4 separate regions of the Homo sapiens genome follow, and all the other regions are linked to region 1. The links are contacts of gene promoters, found by promoter capture Hi-C in blood cells and fetal thymus (Javierre and others, 2016). All regions are on one chromosome and are shown on one strand. The core of a region is centred on a gene start or on the middle of the fragment in contact, and the rest is flanking DNA. Distances in the headings are between cores, read along the strand shown. Region 1 holds the start of CAV1 (caveolin 1). Region 2 has its middle 3.6 kb from the start of TES. Region 3 overlaps MET (MET proto-oncogene, receptor tyrosine kinase). Region 4 overlaps CAPZA2 (capping actin protein of muscle Z-line subunit alpha 2).

What was found. Contacts are between HindIII fragments. The CHiCAGO score rates a contact against its expected background, and 5 or more counts as called.
Region 2: a contact is called between a fragment that was not itself captured here and the fragment with the promoter of CAV1 in region 1, in 5 of 17 cell types (naive CD8 T cells, total CD8 T cells, naive B cells and 2 more). The highest score is 7.8, in naive CD8 T cells.
Region 3: a contact is called between a fragment that was not itself captured here and the fragment with the promoter of CAV1 in region 1, in 1 of 17 cell types (total B cells). The highest score is 5.2, in total B cells.
Region 4: a contact is called between a fragment that was not itself captured here and the fragment with the promoter of CAV1 in region 1, in 1 of 17 cell types (endothelial precursors). The highest score is 5.3, in endothelial precursors.

What each region holds. Positions count from the first base shown.
Region 1 is chr7:116,523,706-116,527,089 of GRCh38, forward strand. CAV1 (caveolin 1) reads left to right here and starts at 1,331. Exons shown (of 3, transcript NM_001753.5): 1 at 1,331-1,387; 2 at 2,820-2,984. The coding sequence starts at 1,358. RefSeq lists silencers at 2,313-2,702, 2,933-3,032. The HindIII fragment of the contact is 5,040 bases long and covers 448-3,384 here.
Region 2 is chr7:116,205,079-116,208,760 of GRCh38, forward strand. No RefSeq gene overlaps it. Among named protein-coding and RNA genes, the nearest start is that of TES, 3.6 kb to the right of the region's middle. The HindIII fragment of the contact is 637 bases long and covers 1,602-2,238 here.
Region 3 is chr7:116,785,437-116,788,674 of GRCh38, forward strand. All of the region lies in intron 19 of MET (MET proto-oncogene, receptor tyrosine kinase), which reads left to right. Among named protein-coding and RNA genes, the nearest start is that of CAPZA2, 76 kb to the right of the region's middle. The HindIII fragment of the contact is 2,977 bases long and covers 23-2,999 here.
Region 4 is chr7:116,870,392-116,873,793 of GRCh38, forward strand. The region is part of intron 1 of CAPZA2 (capping actin protein of muscle Z-line subunit alpha 2); the gene reads left to right. It also overlaps the pseudogene LOC100418716. Among named protein-coding and RNA genes, the nearest start is that of CAPZA2, 9.5 kb to the left of the region's middle. The HindIII fragment of the contact is 1,003 bases long and covers 1,624-2,626 here.

The DNA.
Region 1 (3,384 bases), core at 81-2,580:
TTTTGTGTCTTCTCTCTAACTAAATAATCAACTCTTTCAGCATTCCATCCATTTCCCTTTCTCCTCCCTCTTACTCCCAACCCACATTCCCCTCTCCATTTTAATTTTAACCTGTGCCCCTTCAAGTGTACTCCAGCTTTTTTTTTAAAATAATTTCAAGTGATACTTTGACTTTTGACTGCATATGGAAGCATAAGTAACATGTCCTTTCATTTTTGGATAATGAGTTTCCTGATTAATTACAGCTCAAGAGTAAAATGACTGATTACTATTTAATTCATTTTGTGCTTCTTTACAATAAAGTAAAGACAGAAGCCCCAGATTCAGGAACAGACAAAATACTTTAATCGCTATCACATTTTTTTTAAGTCTAGTCAATTAGAAAAGTCAAATCTTTCCTCACAGCCAAGCACATTAAAAAAAAATCTTCTCTGGTAATAAACTTGAAGCTTTAAATAATTCTACAATTATAAACATTTTGTGTATTTTGCAAATATGGCATAACCTGTTGGCATAAAATTCCATTGTTCCAGAAAATATCGGTAATAAAATTATAGAAAAGTTAAAGATCTTCATTTCTTATTTCGAAGCGTTTGGGAGACATTTCAGAAACGGATGGGAAATGTTAAATTCTGCATGCCTGCTTAAGTTTCCATCCACACCGACTAGATGTAAACGAGTGTCACCAAAAGTACACCACAGGCACCCACACAGATTCCTTCCATAAGGGATCCACAAAGTTTAGATGTGAAATGTACCTAAAGGTTCCTAGCCGTCTTTCATCCCTCCCTCTGTGAAACAGGGAGACACATGTGTTTTAAGGCAGAGATGGAACTTGGGCGATGGGCGGGGGGTGGGGGAGGTGGGAAGGGACGGCTTAGGACAGGGCAGGATTGTGGATTGTTTCTGCCGCCTTGGTTGCCCATACTGGGCATCTCTGCAGGCGCGTCGGCTCCCTCCACCCCTGCTGAGATGATGCACTGCGAAAACATTCGCTCTCCCCGGGACGCCTCTCGGTGGTTCAGAGCAGGGAAAATGTTGCCTCAGGTTTAAAATAATCTGCCCAAGCACCCCAGCGCGGGAGAAACGTTCTCACTCGCTCTCTGCTCGCTGCGGGCGCTCCCCGCCCTCTGCTGCCAGAACCTTGGGGATGTGCCTAGACCCGGCGCAGCACACGTCCGGGCCAACCGCGAGCAGAACAAACCTTTGGCGGGCGGCCAGGAGGCTCCCTCCCAGCCACCGCCCCCCTCCAGCGCCTTTTTTTCCCCCCATACAATACAAGATCTTCCTTCCTCAGTTCCCTTAAAGCACAGCCCAGGGAAACCTCCTCACAGTTTTCATCCAGCCACGGGCCAGCATGTCTGGGGGCAAATACGTAGACTCGGAGGTAGGCATCCGTGGGGGGGCGCCGGCTCGGGCGTGCGGGGAGTGTCCGCTTCTGCTATCTGCCTCTCCAAATATCCCGACTGCTGCCCTGGCCCCAGCCCTCTCTCCACTTCGGAGCACTCCTCTGGCGTTGGCACCGCTGAGGAATGGGCCTGGGCGGGGAGGTGAAGAGAAGCCAGGAATGTTTTATGTTTTCCTAATGGAGAGGGGGCCTAGGGAGCCCCTGAGCTAGGAGGACACGGAAAAGGGGATTGGGGTCCTGAGATTGGGTCTGTTGGGCCCAGGACGCGTTTTCTGGATGGGTCTAGGATGCTCCCTTGTCGCGGGACCCCCGCGGTCCGGCCCTGCCTGCTGGGGGTTCGAAGAGGTGGAGTGCAGGGTGGAGGTGTTATTTACCCGAGTCCTGGGGACAGTCCCCGGGACTCTCCGCCAGGCGCCCAGACCGGCAGGTCCCGCAGGCGGCGCGCGGTGTGTTTGCACTTTCCAAAGTTCTTGAACCATCTCAAGAACTCCTTCTGCATCTTGGCGTCTGGCAGGGGTGTTCCGAGAGAGGTAGACCTCCCCTCCCCAAACTGCCACCATCACTTCCAACGCCCTCCACGCGCTGGAGCTCTGCCCGGGTGTGGAAACCTCGTCTTCCAACACGTAGCTGCCCTTCAGCCACCCGCCCGCAGCCTGGGAGTGCCCTGAGGGTGGGTCGGGGGAGCTGCGCAGGTGAGACTGAGTTCTAGGACATTTAGGGGGTCTGGTGCCTGGCTCCGCCAAAAATGGGGACTTTCGGGATTGTGATCATCACGGCGGATTGAGCAGGGAGAGCCGTGGAGGGACAAGAGAGGGCCGAGGCAGGGTGGGGGGCGCGGGCAGGTGCGAGGGGGATGCGGCCAAGAAGCAGCGATAAAGGGAACATTCCACGGGTCGGGCGGCTGCTGTTGGATCTTAGATAAAGCTGGAAGGGATTACCGGGGCAGGGGTAATAGGGACCGGGGACGGGAACGCGAAACAGGTGAAGCGCTCAGGGCGAGAGCGACTCGGCTTAGGGAGTCCGGGAGAAGCCTGCGGCTGCCCCCTCGCCGCCGAGGTCCTGCGGGTCCTGCGGGTCCTGCGTGCTGAGCCGGGGCGTGCGCGGGCGGGGGCCTTCGGACCGCGCGGCGGGGCCTGCCCTGACCCCTGGCGGCGGGCGGGGGAGGCAGGCGCGCCCTGCAGAGTACAGAGGGGTGTGGTGTCCTCTGCGAGATCCTCTTAAAAAGCTGGCTACGCGCAGGCGGTTTCTGTGCACGGAGCCGTAGCTGTCGGAGCGGTTAGTTCGATTTCGAGCTCGAGGTTTCCCCCGCCGCCAGGCTGACTTCTCATCGCTTGTTTTTCTTTTTGCATTTTTCCTCCCACCGCCGTTGCCGCCCTCCCCGTCCTGGCCGTCCGCCCTCCGCCCTCTGCAGGGACATCTCTACACCGTTCCCATCCGGGAACAGGGCAACATCTACAAGCCCAACAACAAGGCCATGGCAGACGAGCTGAGCGAGAAGCAAGTGTACGACGCGCACACCAAGGAGATCGACCTGGTCAACCGCGACCCTAAACACCTCAACGATGACGTGGTCAAGGTAAGCCAAGGCGACCAACAGGGAAGGGCTGGGACAGCTCTCCTCTGGCAGTTAGCCCGTGCATCCTTCTTTAGCATTGCCGTGTACGCACACCCCACCCCGCCCCCTACACGCGCACACACACACACACACAGAGTTTTGTGGGTTTGATGTGTGGGAGCTCCCGCAGTCGGCAGAAACGTTACATCTCCCTTCCCCCATCTCCCCCCAATAGTTAGTTCAGCTGAAATTCAGCTAAAGTGAGTTTTGTAGAAGTTCCTATAACTACACTTTTATCCTAGCAAATGAGCCTATTGACCTCAGCAACAGACGGCCCATACTCCTTGGGACGGTGAGATGGTTCCTATCCATTCCCAGGTTGAAAGTCTAGTGACAGGTCCCCACTGCACGTGGCATTAAG
Region 2 (3,682 bases), core at 670-3,169, 320 kb before region 1:
TTAAAAGGAGGAAAGAAATCCCCATGGACCCACCAATCAAAGGCAAACTGCGGGTGACATTTTAGTGTATTTCCCTCATGTTCTTTTTCTATTCATGGTATTTTTGTATAGCTGTGAGCATACTGTATATACAATTCCATATTATATTCTGTTCTTATAACATTATAATTGTTTTCCATTACAAACATTCCTAAGTATCATTGATCAGTAACTATGCTAAATCTGTCATGTGGCTCATCCATTATTTACTTAGTCAATCCCCAATTTTTGGTCAATTAAAAAAGTTATGGGATATTAGTTTGCTCTAAGCTACATTGGCACCTATTTTCTTTAAAAAATATCCCTAGAGAACAACCTGTAATCTTATACAACCTGCTAATGAGGAATAATAGCTGTGTCAGGCTCACAAAGGAGTTCCTATGACAGGTGTTAATAAATGATTAACATCTCTAAAGAGGCCTCCTGGGACCACATTAATAATTGATGAGACAGGTGTATCATTTTCATCTTGAAATGTTTACCTCATCTAGTATAGAAAAGTTTTCAATAATTATTTTCCCTGGCATATGTAGTGTTTACTCCGTATGTGTATTTATGTGTGTATATGTATATATGTTTATGTATGTGTACTTGTGTATGTAGCATCATCTGTATCTTCAGCCCTGATGTTTCTTTTGTCCACCAGACTCATATCCTATTGGCCTTGCCAAATCAATACACACAAAACAAAACCCATTATCTTTCTCAATCAAATTTTCTTCTCCACTTTTGTTTCCTGCCTTAAGGTGTGTGTTATATCCACCAAACTGGTCACCCAAAATAGATTCCTAAGAGATAGAAAATAGAATCCTAATGGATTCCTTATCCTCTCTCTTTTCAAGAATCAGTCAAGTCCAATATTTTCTACCTGTTTAATATCATTGATAAATCCTTCTAACTCTCCACAGTCATTGCTACTGCTTTACTTTGGCCCTCATCATATTTCTTGTGGGCTATAGCTAGAATCTCCTGATTAATCTTCCATTCTTTAGACTTGTCCTATTCATTATCTACCCCCATTCCTAGCAATAAAATAAACATCTACAACTTTTTGCCCAAGTGGGGTTTCTGTAATTTAAATAGTTTTTGAAATGTTCAGAAACATTGAGTACACCAGAACACACAGAGGGGAACAATAGACAATGGTACCTACTTGAGGGTAGAGGGTGGGAGGAGGGTGAGGTTCAAAAAGGTACCAGTTGTGTACTATGCTCACTACCTGGCTGATGAAATCATTTGTAAACCAAACCCCAGCAACATGCAATTTAATCATGTAACAAACCTGCAGATGTACTCCCAAACCTATAATAAAAGTCAAGGGAAAAAGTTCTCCAATATCGACAGAAAGAAAAATCTTCTGCTTGTACTTACTAAGCCTCTTCCTTTGCTAATTTCCTTGTAACATCTGAAACAGAGATAGATATCTTTGGAGGCATTTGGAAAACTCTTATTACTCCCTCTCTGTGAGATTTGTCCTACCTATAAGTTTGGGCTTTAGTCTATGTGTTGTCCTTTGTGTCTCTCAACTGGCACCAGCTTCAGCTAATTGAATCAGAAGTTTAAGCTTATCCAAGCTGGGCTATTTAAAGTCTTTTTGTTAGAGGGGTTGAAATCCCAAACTGGGTATTTTGCTTGAACTAGGGTGATGTCAATTAACGAGCTGAGACTGCCTTTATTGGTTGCCCATGTGTGCAGGAAAACAGAGTCTTCAAAGAGAAAGAACTAAAGCTGATGGAGGCCAAGCAGCAAGATGAGAGACCACATAACCCCAGTGAAGGAGTAGATTCCTTGTTCCAGATGTTGGCAAGTGCCTGGTCTAGTCGCAGATGCATCTGGCCCTTGAGTTTTGCAACAAGCCTCTGTATCCTTAAAATAAAATGCCATCTTTTTAAAAGTAAACTAGCTCGAGGGTTACTATTACTTGTGATATGGTTTGTATATTTGTCCCCACCCAAATCTCATGTTGAATTGTAATCCGTAATGCTGGAGGTAGGGCCCAATGGGAGGTGTTTGGATCATGAGTGGCTTGGGCCATCCCTTTGGCAATAAATGAGCATTCTCTCTGAGTTCACAGGGGAGCTGGTCATTTAAAATTGTGTGGCACACCTCATCCTCCCCCACCAACACATTCTGTCTCTCTTGCTCCTGCTTTTACCATGTGAAGTGCTTTCTCCCACTTTGCCTTCTGCCATGATTGTAAGCTTCCTGAGGCCTCCCCAGAAGCCAATGCAGAAGGTATGCTTCCTGTACAGCCTGTAGAACTGTGAGCTAATTAAACCTCTTTTCTTTATAAATTACCCAGTCTCAGGTATTTCTTTATAGTAGTGCAAGAACGGCCTAATATAACTTGCAATCAAGAGTTTTAACTAAGACACTTATTCATCTTCCAAGACTAAGCCAAGGTTACTCTTTTCTAAAGATTTTACAAATCCCAATACCACCTTCTCCCTGACTCTCACGTGTGCTTCCCTCTACCTGTAACATTTCATTACTCTTACACACCTGCTACTCCCATACTAATCTGTAAACTGCTTAAGAACAAAGGGAATGTCTTATGTATTTTTACATCTCTCCAGTGATGAAGGGTACATAAAAGTTTAACACATTTCCCTCATCGGATATTGTAATTTGATAGCATAGAAACTGAATTTAACCTGAATAAATATTTTGTTTGGCCTATACAGAGAACTTCAGTCTCTCTCTCTCTCTCTCCTCTGTCTCTGTCTCTGTCTGTCTCTCTCTCTCTGTGTGTGCCTGCACACATGTGTAAAATCTAGTATTTTCATTTACTTCTCTAAAGATAAAGATCTTAAGACCATTCCTTAGTATTATCCAGTATAGTATATTGATTTCCTCTCTACTTGATTGAAACAGCAGAGTTGGGCATTTATTTGGCTGATGTGTCCATAAGTTTTGTGGAAAAGTCAAGTCCAACATTGACTAAAGCACTCTGGTAGAAACAAAGGGAGATAAAATTATAAAGTAATATCTTTCCCCACAACTGCACCAAAAATGCACTTTCCAAAGTCACCAATGATCTCCTTTTTGTTAAATCCGAAGGGCATTTGACCCTTTTCTACAATTTGACATTGTTAACTAATTTCTTCTTCAATTTCCTTTCTTGCTTTTAGGGATTTGACTCCTAATTTTTTTCTTACCCTTAATCTAGCCCTTATCTCTTTTATGTGTTTCTCTTGCTCAGCCTTGCTCACTTGGTGTCTTTGATATTCTTCTCTTTTATTTTACTGTCTCCGAGGCTCATCTCACTTCTTGGCCTTTAATTATTTATTTATGTAGGATGTGAACTCCTAAATCAGCATTCAAGATGTATATTTGGATACTCATTTCAATGTCTCAGTCTCAAACTCAATATATTAAAAGTTGTATCCTTTATGTCCACCACCAGCCCCAAAGAATGCACAACTGAACAAAACCCTGACCATCATCCTATATTTTCTCTCTTTCTGAGCTATCCATAGAGGTGATCAAGATAGAAATGTGTGCCATCTTCTATTCATTCCACTGTCATCAACTACATGTACTCATCAAACCATGCCAGTTCTACCTCCTTAATAACTGTAGCTTAACACCTGAATAACTGAACAAAAACTTACAATTTAACTCTCTTAACACTTATCTACCT
Region 3 (3,238 bases), core at 261-2,760, 260 kb after region 1:
GAGCAGGACCAAGGTGGTGACAAGCTTTCACCAAGGGGAGAGGTGCCACACACTTTTAAACAACCAGATCTCCGTAGAATTCTATCACGAGAACAGCACCAAAGGGAGAAATCTACCTCCATGATGCAGTCACCTCCCACCAGGCCTCAGCTCCCACACTGGGGATTATAATTCAACATGAGATTTGAATGGGGACACAAATCCAAACCATATCAATCATTCTCCAAGACAACTTGAAAGGAGTAGAAGCAGGAAGATGAAGTGAGAAGTGGAACTTGAAATAAGACACAATGAGAATGGAAAGGAAGAGATGAAAGGAGGAGCATCTCAGAGGTAGAATCAGAAGTATTTACCAAGGAATTGATAAAAAGTCAAAGATTAGCAAAGATATATGCTCATGCAATAACACATATATGAAGCACAGAAGCAAAAGCTGGACTCAGAACAAAAATAGCAAGTTGAGCCTTAAACACACTGAGTTTGCCTTGGGAGTAGAATGTCCAGGCAGAGAAGTCCATCAGGCAATTGAAAATGTGAATCTGCAACTTGTAAAAAATGTATTATTCAGCCTGGGCTGTCATACAATAGACCACAGACTGGTTGGCTTAAACAACAAAAATGTATTTCTAACCATTCTGAAGGCTAGAAGTCCAAGATCAGGATGTCAGCATGGTTGGGCTCTATTGAGGGCTCTCTTCCTGGCCTATAGATGGCCACCTTCTTGCTGTGTCCTCACATGGCTAAAAGAATAAGAGTCAGTTCTCCAGTATCTCTTCTTAGAAGGGCACTAATCCCAGCATGAATGCCCACCCTCATGACCTTGTCTAAACTGAATTACCTCTAAATGGCCCCATCATTAAACATTGTCACAGTGGGGCTTAGAGCTTCAACATATGAATTTCCGGGGAACACAATTCAGTCCATAGCAGGGGTCAAGGCTGGGAATATGCTTTTGAGAGTCCAAAAGCAATTATTCAGTAGTCCAAAAGCAATTATTCAACTACATATATAAAGTGAAAGAGAAAAGCAGTGAGGTAAGGGACCCAGAAGCAAAGACCACCATGAAAGTCAGAGTAAGAGAAAGTTTCAAGGAGAAATTGGATGCTCAACAGAGTCCACTGCTACTCAGTACACCAGAAGGGTCTTGGAAGCTGAGTAACTTGAGTGATTTGGAGGTCTAGAGTGTGCTTAGGAGCACAGGTGTTGAATGGAATGGAGAGTACACTTATTCTATTCACATGTTGTAAGTCAGAGGACTGTGATGTCTGAAGATAGAGAAACATTTGATGTTTCAGTCCTTAAGGATGACAACTAAAAAAGGAAAATGTGCAAACAAAGTAGTCAGAAAATAATGTTCATGGGGGACATGCACTTGAAGAGAAAGGGTTGGTAGCTTTTGAGAGATGATGGGTCAGAGATCTGAGTGTGGCATGGGAAGCAAGAAGTCATCTCATCCACCTCTCTGTGAATCAGCAAGAGGGAGAGGTGTGACCCCTATTGGCAAGAGTTGCAAAGAAATTGTGACTTCAACTGAAAGCTGAGTTTCAGTTCCTGTGAGGAGGTAGGGGAACTATTAGAGAATAAGACGAGGTGACTGGGAGTTTGTTTTCAATGAGTAAGTAGGTCATAGGTCATGGTGGAGGACCAGGACTTCAGCATGCATGAGATTGGTAAGAGAAAGTGATAGTGCCATGTAGAGCTTAATGCCTGGGATTTTGATCCTGAAAGATTCTGAAAGAGGTGAAAGAAGTGGGTGCTAGAGAGGGAGACTGGGGACATGTTAGTGACAGTGGCAGGTGAAGGCAAAAGATAGGGAGAATTAACCCATCCTCCAAGAACATACTGTTCATTCAGACTTGAGGGTTAGTCTGCCATTAAGAAGCCAGAGCCAACCCTTACAACTCAATAATAAGACTGTCTTAGTCGTTTTGTGCTGCTATAACACAATACCACAAATTGGGGGATTTATAATGAACAGAAATGTATTTGGCCCACAGTTCTGGAGGCCAGGAAGTCCAAGATCAAGGGGCCACATGTGCTGAAGGTCTTCTTGCTGTGTCATAACATGGTGGAAGGCATCACATGGGTGTGAGAGAGTGCAAGAGAGAGCAAGAGGTGAACAGATTCTCTAACAAACCCCCTTCCACAATAATGAACTGACTCCCAAGATAATGACATTAATTCACCCATGAGAGTAGAGCCTCATGACCTAATTACCTCTTAAAGATCCCTCCTCTGAACACTGTTGCATTGGGAGGGGATTAAGTGTCCAACACATGAACTTTGGGGGACACATTCAAACCATAGCAAAGGCAATATTACTCAATTTTTTTAAGTAAGCAGAAGATTTGAATAGACATTTTACCAAAGAGACGTAAGAATAGCTAGCTAATGAGCACATGAAATGAAACATATGCCCACATGAAGATTTGTACATGAATGATCACAGTAGTTTTCTTCATAATAGCCAAAAACCAGAAGCAATCTTAATGTCCATCAACGGGTGAATGGATAAAAAAAAAATGTGGTGTGTCCATACAATGGACTAAACCATTCATCAACATAAAGGAATTACTGATGCCTACTACAGCATGATAAACCTCAGAAACATTATGTTAAGTGAAAAAAAGGCAGATAAAAAAATTACATGTTGAATGGTTCCATTTATATGAAATTTCTAGAAAGAGGCAGAACTACAGAGTCAGAAAACAAATCAGTGGTTGCCTGGGGCCAAGAGAAGGAGTGAAGATAAACCACAAATGGACATGAGGGAATTTTCTGGAATGTTGAGATGATCTAAAACTGGACTGTGATGATATGATAGCTGCACGTCTATATAAATTTACTAAACATCATTTAATCACTTTAATTTACTAAACATCACCAATCACTTAAAATTGGTGAGTTTTATGATCTATAAATTATACCTCAACAAAGCTGATTTATAAAAAAAGAGCCTGATGAAATTTTGGATGTTTAGGGCAAGTGTTGGGATTCTAAGCTTCTTGACAGCCACATACATGCAACAATACCCCCACCTCCCCAACAAACACACACAGACAGCACAGAGGCCAAGGCTTCCACCATAGCCACAGTCACTCAGATACTTGACTGGAAATGTACATAGATTTCTGCAGATAGGATGGTGCTATTTCTTTCTCACTCTCATCGAAAGACACTATTTTGTGCTACATAAAGGCTGAACCTGAATAATCTGTACATAATGCTGCTTTGGGAA
Region 4 (3,402 bases), core at 875-3,374, 350 kb after region 1:
TCAGTTAAATAGTTGAGTGTCTACTCTATATTTGGTACTTTTACAATAAGAGATGCAAAGGTGAATTGTGCTGTTTAACAGCTGACTGTCAGGGTTTTTCCATCTCATCAATGTTGACAGTTTGGGCCAGATATTGTTGGGCAGGTGGACATGCTGTGCGTTGTAGGGTGTTTAGCAACATCCTTAGCCCACATGATATGCCACTACCATAACCCAGGCTTACCAATCCAGAATGTCTCCTGGTGGACAGATTCACCCCTTGTTGAGACCCATGAGTCTAGATAGATTAGAGCTGGTAAGAACAGTTGAGAACCTGGCTTAAGTGGACTTTAGGACCTGGTTTAAGTTCGTCCCACAAGAAATGGAGGAAAAAAAGATCGCCAATAGATTTTAGAGTTGGAATCAAGAAGACTTGATAAATGAATATAGGGGAAAGGCGTGAGTCAGAGAAAACTGTGAACATTAAAGTCTGGATGACTGGGAATTGGTACCACTAGTAACAACTGGAGAACACAGGAAAGAGGATACACAGCTGGGAGGAATAATGGTGAATTTAGTTTTGGTTGTACGGAGTTTGAGATGCTAGTCATTGTCTATGTGAAAATGCCTAGCAGATACGGAGATAGAGAAACAGCTTGGAAAAGAGGTCAGCTCCAGAGATTATATAGAGATTTGAGAATCCTCTTTTTGTGGGTTAAAGCGAGATGGGATAAGCCCTTTAGGACAAAAAGCTTAGACATGGGAAAGAGGAGAGGGCAGGAAGCGTATACTTTATACTTTGATTTGAGGAATAAGAAGTGGAGAGAGACCTAAAGGTGAGGAGAAACCCTTGAGGTCGAAGTGTTACCTACTGATAGCTAGCACAGAGTAGGTGCTGAGGTCACAGAATGTGACGAGAATTTCAAGAAGGAGCGGTGCTCAGTGTTGCAGAGATTAAGGAGTATGAGATTGAAAAAAGCCTTTGGATTTAAGAGAAAGGAATGAGAAACAAATTATACCTACTCTATGCCAGGGACTTTAACATGTATTCTCTCTATTAATTGTCAGAATAACCTTGTTATTATCTTCATTGTACAGACAGGAAACTGGTGCAGTTAAGGCTGTTTAAGTGGTGGACTAGGGATTAGTGGCCTTCAAGAGAATAATTTTACTAGTGTTTGGAGCAAGGAGTGGAGAGACATAAGCCAGATAACTGGAGTCTATAATAAAAAGTATGTGTGTATTTTCCCTTTTCCAGAAACGGCATTTCAGTCTTGTTTGCCTTGTAAACTACTCATCTTTGGATAACCAGACTCAAGGACTTTCTTCTCTTCTTTTGTATCCTGACATACCTCTGCTCCCTAAGCAATTTGTACTTATCTTTGTTATAACATTTACCAGTTTTAATAAATTTACCTGTTGTCCTTATTTCCTGTGTTCTTCAGGGCCAGGCCTTATGTCTTCACCATCTTTGTAATTCCAGTAGAGCGCCTAGCCTGTATTAAATCAGTGATTTTCAACTCTGGCTGCACATTAGAATCAACTGGAGAGTTTATAAACAAAATGAACGCACAGGCTCCTCTTGTGGGTGAGGCCTGGAGTGTCTGTAATTCCTTTTTGTTGTTGTTGTTGTTGTTGTTTTAAAGCTTCCCAGGTGATCTGAATGTGCAACTAGGATTGAGTCTCACTGTATCACTGTATTAGGGGCTCAATAAATGTTGACTAAAGGATGAGGAGTGGAGACAGTAAGTACAAATTATTCTTGAAAAAAATTGGTAGTGAAACAAAAGAGAAAAATATGTATTACTACTTTGTTTTTTCCTGCTATTTCATTTTAAGAATACTTTTTTTTTGTAAGAGAACATTCTAGGGTGTATAAGGGAAATGATTCAGAAGGGAAAAGGAAATTGAAAACGTAAGATAAAGAATAGTTTACATAACTTACTTTCTTTTAGTTGATGATAATGCCTACTTTGGATTCATGGGTTTCTTCATATTTTAAATAAATGGTAAAAACATATTTAAAGAAGAATCAATGTTGAGTTCTTTAGATGACCCAGTTTCAGGTTAAGTGCTGTGGGCCCTGTTTTTAATTACCAATCAAAATGATAATTATAAAGGAAAAAAATTTAGAGGAAAACTTATTAAAACAAATTACCACTCTTAAGTTTACCCATATTAAGATAAATTCACCTGACACACAGACATGTGATAGTGATCACTTGGTCATAAACTATTTAAATGTCATAAAGTTCAAAAAAGTGGTTTTTTCCTCCGGTTTTACCTCTAATTCTCAAAAGACATAGCCATTTTTTAGAGAGCTGTGGAAGACAACTTCAAATAATTCTTTTAGTTGAAGTGGAAAAGTGCATAGTGGCTCCTTTAATTTTACTACCAGTGTCTAAAGCAGTGACCCTTTTTGGTGTTACATTTTCTTGAGAATCAAGTAAAACCTATAAGTCATTTCTCAAGAAGACTAGACACTTCAAATTTTACATCTGAAGTCCCTTAGGGCATGGGTGCAATATCTGGTCACCTTTCAGAATCACGTGGAGAGATTTTCTAAAACATAGATTTCTAGGTCCCCATTCTCTGGAGATAGATTCACTGGGTCTGGAATAGAGGGTGGGAATCTGTATTTTTTCCAAGCTTTCCAGGTGAGTCTGACTGCCGTTCATATCTGAAAAATTCCTACCCTAATGTCTCCTTCCTTGATCATGGCGGCCCATACCATGTGGAAATTATAGGGGCTCTAGGTAGGATTCTCAGATAAAATACTGATGCCTCAGTAAATTTGAATTTAAGCTAAACGGTGAGTCATTTTTAGTATAGCTATTTCCCATAGTAGTGTACCTTTGGACTGCTGGAGAGTGCAGGGTCCTTTGCTTCTAAATTTAATGGCTCTAGATGGCTGTTTGGGGGTTTTGTTTTTTGTTGTTGTTTTTTGGTGGTGTGTATGTGTGTACATGTATGTCTGTGTGCTACCATGCACATACATTGTCTGCTTTTTATACTTTCATCTCCTTTAAACCTTGCTTAAGGTTTAAAAAAATTTTTTTTAATTTTTGTTAGTTTACCATTTTTATAGCTGCTTTGGTGAGGACTCTATTTCCTGTTAAGGAATTGTTTTCTTCAGACAGTTTTAAAATCTCCTGGAACTCAAGTTTTACCTTAGTGTTTGAAAACATGTTGCCAAATGTTCAGCAAAGGCACTAGAACAATCTGGAGAATTCATGGACATAAGCAGGTGAAGTAACATTAATTTTGCCATCTATTTCTGTAAATTGTGGTAATGATTGACAACCCACAGTAAACTCTCACGTTGTACCCTCATGTTCTAGATGGTAATTATAAAACTGAAGTAGCACTACCAATTGCTTCTGACTTCCAGTAATAAACACATCTTGAAGAGGTGACATAGGC